2 separate regions of the Homo sapiens genome follow, and region 1 is linked to region 2. The links are contacts of gene promoters, found by promoter capture Hi-C in human tissues and cell types (Jung and others, 2019). All regions are on one chromosome and are shown on one strand. The core of a region is centred on a gene start or on the middle of the fragment in contact, and the rest is flanking DNA. Distances in the headings are between cores, read along the strand shown.

Region 1 (4,331 bases), core at 661-3,160, 1.0 Mb before region 2:
GAATCAGAAATGTAGTACTGGACATATTCAGTCTGAGATGAATTTTGGACATCCAAGTGGTGGGGATGTCAAGTGGGCAATAGGGTATATGAGTCTGGGGTTCAGGAGAGATGTCTGAAGTCTGGGAGATATAAATTTGGGAGCTGTTGGCTGGACATGGTGGCTCATGCCTGTAATCCCAGCACTTTGGGAGGCCGAGGCGGGCAGATCATGAGGTCAGGAGATCGAGACCATCCTGGCTAACATGGTGAAAACCCATCTCTACTAAAAATACAAAAAATTAGCTGGGCATGGTGGCACATGCCTGCAGTCCCAGCTACTTGGGAGGCTGAGGCAGGAGAATCGCTTGAACCCGAGAGGTGGAGGTTGCAGTGAGCCTAGACTGCACCATTGCACTCTAGCCTGGGCAACAGAGCAAGACTCCATTTCAAAAAAAACAAAACAAAACTGGGAGCTGTTGGCTGGGCATGGTGGCGCACACCTGTAATCCCAGCACTTTGGGAGGCCGAGGCAGGCAGATCATGAGGTCAAGAGATCAAGGCCATCCTGGCCAACATGGTGAAACCCCGTGTCTACTAAAAATACAAAAATTAGCTGGGCGTGGTGGCATGCGACTGTAGTCTCAGCTACTTGGGAGGCTGAGGCAGGAGAATCACTCGAACCCATGAGGCAGTGGTTGCAGTGAGCTGAGATCATGCCACTGCACTCCAGCCTGGTGACAGAGTAAGACTCCGTCTCAAAAATAAATAAATAAATAAATAAAATAAAAATAAATAAATAAAATAAAATAAAAAAATAAATCTGGGAGCTGTCAACATATGGATGGTATTTAAAAGCATGCTGCTGGATGAGATCATCAAGGGACTGAGTCTGTAGACAGAAGAAAGAGTGGACGAGTGAACCCTGTCACACACTGTTAATAAAAGATCAGGAAGAAAAGGAAGAACTAGGAAAAGGAAACTAAGGATGCCTGATGAGGAAGGAGGAAAACCAGAAGAGTCTGGTGTCCTGGAAGCTAATTATTTCTTTATTTTATTTATTTATTTTTTTGAGATGGAGTCTCACTCTGTTGCCCAGGCTGGAGTGCAGTGGTGCGATCTTGGCTCACTGCAAGCTCCGCCTCCCAGGTTCATGCCATTCTCCTGCCTCAGCCTCCCCAGAAGCTGGGACTACAGGAGCCCACCACCACGCCCGGCTAATTTTTTTTTGTATTTTTAGTAGAGACAGGGTTTCACCGTGTTAGCCAGGATGGTCTCAATCTCCTGACCTCGTGATCTGCCCGCCTCGGCCTCTCAAAGTGCTGGGATTACAGGCGTAAGCCACGGCGCCCAGCCGAAGCTAATTATTTCATGATACATCAAGGCAAAGGCTATGACAAATGCTGCTAATACATCAAATTTATTTTACTGTGGTTCAAGCTCTTTCTCACTTCAGTGTAACCCAGAAATTTCCAAACTTGGACAACCCCAAATAATTTAGTGTTTAGGGGTCATTCTTTCAATTTGAAATGGCCTGAGACCCATTTCTAACCACTGTGGGAAGTCCTGAGACCTCAGTTTCTCCAAGGGTTTTTAAGGTTGCTTCTGTGTCTCCTGCAGATGGGATGCAGCCTGCTTGTCCCGTCCCCTGTTCCTTTGGCTATTTCCTTTTTGCCTCATCATGTGCCACTCCTCATCCTTCATTCCTCCAAATGATCCACCACCAAAATGGTTGAGTATATCCAAATTGCATGAAAGGTTTAGTTAATGGAAGGCTATATCACAAAGCAGAAAACTTCAAACTCAATACATAGATGATTGCTTAAAGAAATTTAGCAGCCATTCTCTACTACAGTAGGGAGCTTCTCCATGGCCATGTCTTCCAGTAGGCCCCTGTCTCCTGCCATGTTTCTGGAATGCTTCTCATCTCAGTTCTCTTCGTTAACCTTTCCCTACTTCTTTCTTTCCTAGGCCTCATTCTCTTTCTCTAGGGCATCCAGTGAAAATCCAAATTTATTTGATTTTATTATTTGGAGTAACTGATCTCTCTTGTATTGTCCTGGCCTACACGTGTTAAACCCTGGGAGTTGACCTTTCTTAACCAAAAAGCTCCATCTGGATGTTTACCTCAATGAAACAAGCTCACTAGCAATAAATTATACCACATTCTTGGAAATCAGAAAGGTTACAGATTTTATTAATAATTTTTCCTGTCTGTTAAATATAACAGAAAAAACACTGTCACTGACAACCAGGAGAGAGAGTACAGCATAGTAGTTAAGAATACAGGTTCTGGAATCAGTACATCTACATTTAAACTCTTCCAATTTACTTGGACAACTCTAAGCCTTAGTTTCCTCATCTCTAAAAGGGGGATACTAATAGTACTTACAGGTTTATGGTAATTTGTTAAATGGGAAACGTCATGTCAAATCCTTGAAGTTTCTGACACACAGAAATAGCTCAACAGATATTAGTTTTCTGTTAAGTTCCAAGAAATAAATGTAGCAAATGCAAAACCTAATGTTGGCCAGGTGTGGTGGCTCATACCTATAATCCCAGCACTCTGGGAAGCAGGAGGATCACTTGAGCCAGGAGCTCAAGACCAGCCTGGGCAACACAGCAAGACCCTGTCTCAAAAAAAAAAAGTTAGCCGGGTGTGGTGGTGTGTCCCTGTAGTCCATGCTACTTGGGAGGCTGAGGCAGGAGAGGACTGCTTGAGCCCAGGAGTTCGAGGCTGCAGTGAGCTATGATTTTACCACTGTACTCCAGCCTGGGTGACACAGCAAGACCCTATCTCTAAAAAAACAAAACAACCCACCCTCAGTGTTGGTAGGGCTATACAGAACTAGAGATAGGTTTGTATCATAGAATTTTAATGGTACTATATATTGATTCTTTCTTTTTAGACAAATCTCTGGCTGTCTACATGATAGGATATAAACTGTTCATATGTTTTGAAATCTTAATCCCACTTTGTATTCAAGGAGAACATGTGAAATAAGTTACTTATGAAGAATGTTTGTAGCACTGCTATTCATAACAATCTCAAATCAGAACTAACCAAAAAGCCCGGCAGTGGGGAATTGGCTAAGAAAATCACAATCTATAAATATAATGTAACCCAATGTTACCTTTAAGCACAAGTAAACAGTGATTAAGGTGGAAATTTGTAAAAAGCAGAATTAAGATAGTGCTTAGACATGGATTACAACGATGTAAAATGTGAAAATCTCTAAGAAGTCAGCAGATAAACTGAAGAGATGTCCACAGTTAGATGTACAAGTTTAGGGAGTTCCCTATTTTCTGTTAGGTTGCTTAAGTTCATCAACCTCTGAGCTTGGTCTTAAGCAAGCATGAATAGTTCTACTGATTAATGTTGCATTTTGACTTCTGCTGCTATGCCAGGGAGGATGATGGGCTGTTTTTTCTTTGATAAACAGCTTCTATGTTCTCATTTATCCATTCAACAAATAACAATGTTTATGTGCCAGGCACTGTATGAAACTGCATGGATTCAATAGTGAACGAGTCAGACATGGTTCCCGGCCTCCATGGCTCTTGTGATTTAGTGGGAAGGAAGGACACAACACCAAAAATCATATGTGATTTGGGCACACTGAAAGGATTCATGATTCTGAGGAATTAACAAGGAAAGCAAATTAGTCAGATGCACTGGGGATGATTTCTTTGAGGAAGAGATGACATAGAAGATTATCTGTTGAGGACTATGGGAGAGAGTGCAGGAGGGAACAGCAAATGGGGAGACTGGAAAGGGAGAAAAGAAAGTGTGTGTTTGAGGAACTAAAAGAAGGCCTGCAGGGCTGGAACACAGGAAGCTAAGGCAAGAGTGGTATAGATTGCAAAGAGGCAGGGAAAGTGGGAAGGGACCAGGTTATACAGAGCTTTCTTAAAGATATTGGCAGAATATAAAATGGAGTGGGGGTGAAGAGTATAAGTGAACACTGAAGAGTCCTTTATAAGCTAGTCTAGCAACCCAGATGAGAGGGCATGATTGTCTGGACTAGAGTGGTAGCATTGGCAATAGAAATACATGGATTTAAAGGATTCTTAAGATGTAGAGCAACAGGACTAGGAGGCTGATAAATGCAAAGTGAGAGGAAAGTCAAGGATGACTCCTAGATTTCTGGCTGGAGCTGGGTTGCACAGTGGTGCCATTTTCCGAGGTGGGGAACACTGATGGAGCAAGTTTGATAAGGCAAGAGCAGTTTGGGGGTTTGTTGGGTTTGAGGAGCCTAAGAAATATCTAAGCGAAGATGACCAGCAGGCAGGTAAATGGATTACAAGTTGAAGTTCAGGACAGAAGTGTACATGTGAAGTGCGTCAATCAGT
Region 2 (4,211 bases), core at 1,591-4,090:
ATGGGAGGTGTGGGGAGGGCAGATAAGACCATGATAGAGACTGGGTGAGTGGAGGGATGGCCTTCAAGCAGGAAGGCGTTGGGATGGCTCTTGGATCAATAAAGTAGACTGGGATTAGGAAACATTTTAAATGCCCTGATGAAAAGTAACCTGGATTCAACCGTGTCCATACAGTACTTTCCTATCTTTCAGTCTTTCCTCGAGCTCTTTCCTCTGCTTGGCCTGTCCTCCCTCCCCACCAGCCTTTCCCATCTCCTTGAACTCCTCCTTAGGCTTCAAAGCCCAGTGGTAACTGCCCTAGCTCCTCCCATGCAGAATCAATTTCTCCCTCATTCGCATCTCCTTGATGTTTTGCACATCCCCCTTGTATTGCGGTTATTTCTTTACTTCCCTTTCTCCCCTGGGTGGTTATTTATCATCTGCTAGCCTGTGGACTCCCTGAAGGCAATGATATTGTCTTGTTCATAGCGTAAGCTCCAGCACATAGTAACAGTCCCTGGCACATAGTAACAGTCCCTGGCACATAGCAGACGCTCAGAAATATCTGTTGGAGATAAATTAAATAGAAGTGAATACTGGGGAGCCATTGTGATTTCTTGAGAGAAATGATGTGGTGAAATCAGAATTTCAGAAATATTAATCTATCAGCATGAAAGAAGATGGATTAAAATGAAGAAAGCAACTCGTGGCTGGGAGTCAAGAGGGGAGATTATTACTGTAATTTGGACATGGTTGAAGGTGGGGGCAGTGGGAATGGAGACAGGTAAATAATTCCTCAGATATCACAAAAGAATGTGGAAGAGATTTTGCGATGAATGAGCTATAAATGTGGGGGACAGAATGGGAGTGTTGGGAACATTTAAACATTGAGACTCCCAGCAATTAGGATAAAAGTGGTACCATGGAGAGAAATGTGGGGGATGGAGAAGACGGCAATACACAGCCTCTGTGTAGGATAACTGATTGCAATCTCCACAAGTTTTTCGAGGCAAAAACAAAAACAAACTCCAAGTCAAAAATCTCCCCACCCCTGATCTTCCTCCCAAACTCTGGGCTGTATTTTTCTTTCGCTAACAGCCAGTAAGAAATATTTCTTTATGGCATAGGAGACTAAAAAGAAGGTAATGCCAAGCTGGTGCCCCGCCCAGTGCTGGGCACAGAGGAGATCACATGAGTTCCACTGGCCAGCCTCCCCACAAGAAACCAACCCAGTTGCTTATTCAGAAGGGGCTCCAGTATCCTGATCACCCAAACTCATTTCCCAGGCCCAGACCTCTGGGAAATCCCTGCTCCAGCCCTGCAGAGATTTATAGGAAAGTCCCAGGACGCCCATCTGCTTGCTTCCTCACATTAATTTCAGGGCTAGGATTTTGTTTTCTAAAGGAATTCAACTATGATGCCAACAAAAATCTATAGGAATTGAAGAGTTCCGTATTTTAAGTCACATTTTTAAAATGTTTGCTTCTTTGTATATTGAGACCCAGTAAGACCCTAGTAAGCCCAGTTACTCCATCACCTCCAACAATATTAATCAAGTAGAAGACACGCGGATTTTAAAAGCTGTGTGATCCTTGAAAAATCTTCAGACTGTCAGGGGTCCTGGGTGCCTCCAACTGTGAAAGGAGGGTTGGACAAGGCGATTCCTTAGATCTCTCTCGGGTATCTATTTCTCTAATTCCAAATTCCAACAGGCATCCAATGATTGCTACCCACGTCCAAGCTTTAGACTCATAGCCCGAAAAGGGCGAAGCGCAGCGTGGTAGAGATCGCAAAGGAGACAGGAAGAGAAGCAAGCATGCACTTTTAGTAAGACGGCAAAGGAGGCTGGGAGGTACGGTGCTGGGTGCGGACTGCTTAAAAAACTTACTAGACCACAAATTCCAGATACTTAGGTGGGCCCGAGAACGCCCTAAAATCCCCTTCCCAAGTGAGGGCTGATGTTATTTCAAATAAAAAGAAAACTTAACTTCCAGATCTGTAGAGCTCCAAGGTGAGCTCGCTGTGCAAAAGCTACTTCTGTAAGTGCGCCAAGGGGCCGCAGGTACTTAGGCTGCACTTGAGGAAGTGTCCAGAGTTGGCGGAAACAACCCATCCACTCGGGCTCCAGGCGCTCGCTGGGTTGCAGCAACTAAACTGAGACAGACAGACACACAGATCCGAGGCCCCAGGCCAGGACTCAAGGAGCGCTGACCGAGACTTGCCCGGCTCTCGGGCCCCAGGCGGGAGGGAGGCGAGGCTGAGGTGGGGGGCGCACGGGCTGGGTGTGCACTCGCCGGTCCCCTCCGACCCGACCCGGGGAGCACGGGGCCCCGACCCGGGGACGACTGAGGTGGATTGTCCCTAGAGTTTAAGACTGTCCCTAGAGTCGAGGGTGGAGGGATGAGCGCCGGCGCCAGCACAGAGCAAGACTCCCAGCAAGGAAGAGAACCAGAGAAGGAGGCGCAGCCGTCCGCACGGACCAGGCGCGCGCTGGCTCCCCGAGCCCGGAGCGGCGCAGCCCGCGGCGCCCCGGACACACCCACTGGGTAGCCCGCGCCAGCCCGCCCCGCCGGCCAGAGAGCGGGAGCCGGAGCCTGGGCAGCGGAAGCCGGGTCGGGGCCGCGCGGGCGGCGCGCAGGGGACGCGGGGCGCGCGGCTCTGCTCACCTGGCGGTCCGCGTCCCGGAGCGACCGGCGGCCGCCTCGCCTCGCCTCGCCCCCGCGTGGTTCCCGGCGCCGGGCAGCCCCGAGCGCCGCCGCATGGACGGCCGCCACCGCCGCCCAGCCGCCCCGCGCCCGCCCTGCACGGGCTCCCGCTGTGCCCCGATTCCGCGTCGGGCTGCGCGGGCGGCCAGCGGTTCAGGCGCGCGCGGAGAGCTCTGGCTCAGAGTTTGCGATCCGAGAGCGGGATCCGCGCTCCCTCGGTCCTTCCTCCCTCCCCTCTTGCGGCCTCCCGCTGTCATCTGGAGCCGCTCCTGCCGCCCCCTGGCGGCGACCGCGGGAAGGGCCGGCCCCCATCCGCACCCCTGACCCCGGAGGTCAACAACGGGATGGTCCCTGGGTCCCAGGGGAAGAGACATCACCCAGTAGGAGGGAGTACGGTCTAGACAGAGGCCACGAGGGCGGGAGGGGGCGAGAGTGGAGAGTGGCCCAGCTGGCCAGGGTCGTCTAAGTGAGAGGAAAAGGGAGAGGGCGGTTGAGACCAGGCCCTGAATTCCGCGTTCATCTTATCCTGAGGTCTGTGGGGACCTGTTGAAGGACTGGGGCAGGGGACGGACGCGGGCATCCTTCCATTTGGAACAGCCATTCCGGCAGCATCAGGATGGGGCGGAGGCAAAGCGGGGAGTGGGCGAGGCAAGTGGTGCTGTAAACCTGTGCGAGAAGGGGGCGGTGACTCTAAGGGCAGGAAGGAGCCCTGGTCACACACACACTCCCACGCAAGGTAGGACGCGCTGGGCTCCTTCTGAGGCCAAGGGGAAAGGACAAGAGCCCTCCAAATTCCAACGGGGGTTAGACAGCATGGGGAGGAGACACACACACCCTGACGGCCAGAGCCGTTCGGGATTCTTTCTTGTCTTATTCAGAGTAATATTTTGTTGGGGAAAAAAAAGCCTGCTGCAAAAAAATAATAATTCTTCTCATTAGTAATGATAAAAATCAAACTTTGATCCCTTCATTTTACGAATTGGGAAATTATTGCCCCCAAAAGGGCATGACCAAAGTGACGCGTTTAGTTAATGGAGGGAAAATTGCTAGGGCCCCGTTTCTTGAGTCCTAATTCAGAGCCAAATTCTTTACATTCGAGCCAAGGTGTTCAGAGCTGGGAAGGCAGGAAATAGAGTGACTGTGAGGAACTGTCTCTTCTTTCCCCAGAGCAGGGAGGGGGTGACAAATATTTGAAGAGGCTGTCCAGATACAGGCGTTTCCCTAAATTTCAGTCAGCCTGTTTGTTTATCGCTGCCTCTAAAGCTTGCCTGCAGGGGTTGTTTTGAAAGTGCAGGTATACCGAGAGGACAATGAAGGAGGTGGCAGAATGCAAGCTCCCTGCCCCAGAGCCAGGCAGCACCAGGGCTGGGTGCAGAGCGCTTCGTGGGAGCAGAAGGGAGCTCCCAGGGAAGATTGTCCTCCAGAAAAAAAAAAAAATTAACAAAAGGGAAAGAGGCTACTCAAGAGATTAGGCCAAAGAAAGAAACACCATTTTGAGCACCGACTACTGGCCCGGAGCCTGGCAGA

What was found. Contacts are between HindIII fragments. The study calls those that stand out against the background at their distance.
Region 1: a contact is called between a fragment that was not itself captured here and the fragment with the promoter of CT62 in region 2, in 1 of the 25 tissues and cell types used here (mesenchymal stem cells).

What each region holds. Positions count from the first base shown.
Region 1 is chr15:72,146,597-72,150,927 of GRCh38, reverse strand. No RefSeq gene overlaps it. Among named protein-coding and RNA genes, the nearest start is that of SENP8, 30 kb to the right of the region's middle. The HindIII fragment of the contact is 6,726 bases long and covers 1-4,331 here.
Region 2 is chr15:71,114,133-71,118,343 of GRCh38, reverse strand. CT62 (cancer/testis associated 62) reads left to right here and starts at 2,840. Exons shown (of 4, transcript NR_168260.1): 1 at 2,840-3,420. THSD4 (thrombospondin type 1 domain containing 4) reads right to left here and starts at 2,873. Exons shown (of 18, transcript NM_024817.3): 1 at 2,646-2,873. RefSeq lists silencers at 2,480-2,569, 2,720-2,859, 2,890-2,949, 2,796-2,973, 3,010-3,059. The HindIII fragment of the contact is 8,632 bases long and covers 1-4,211 here.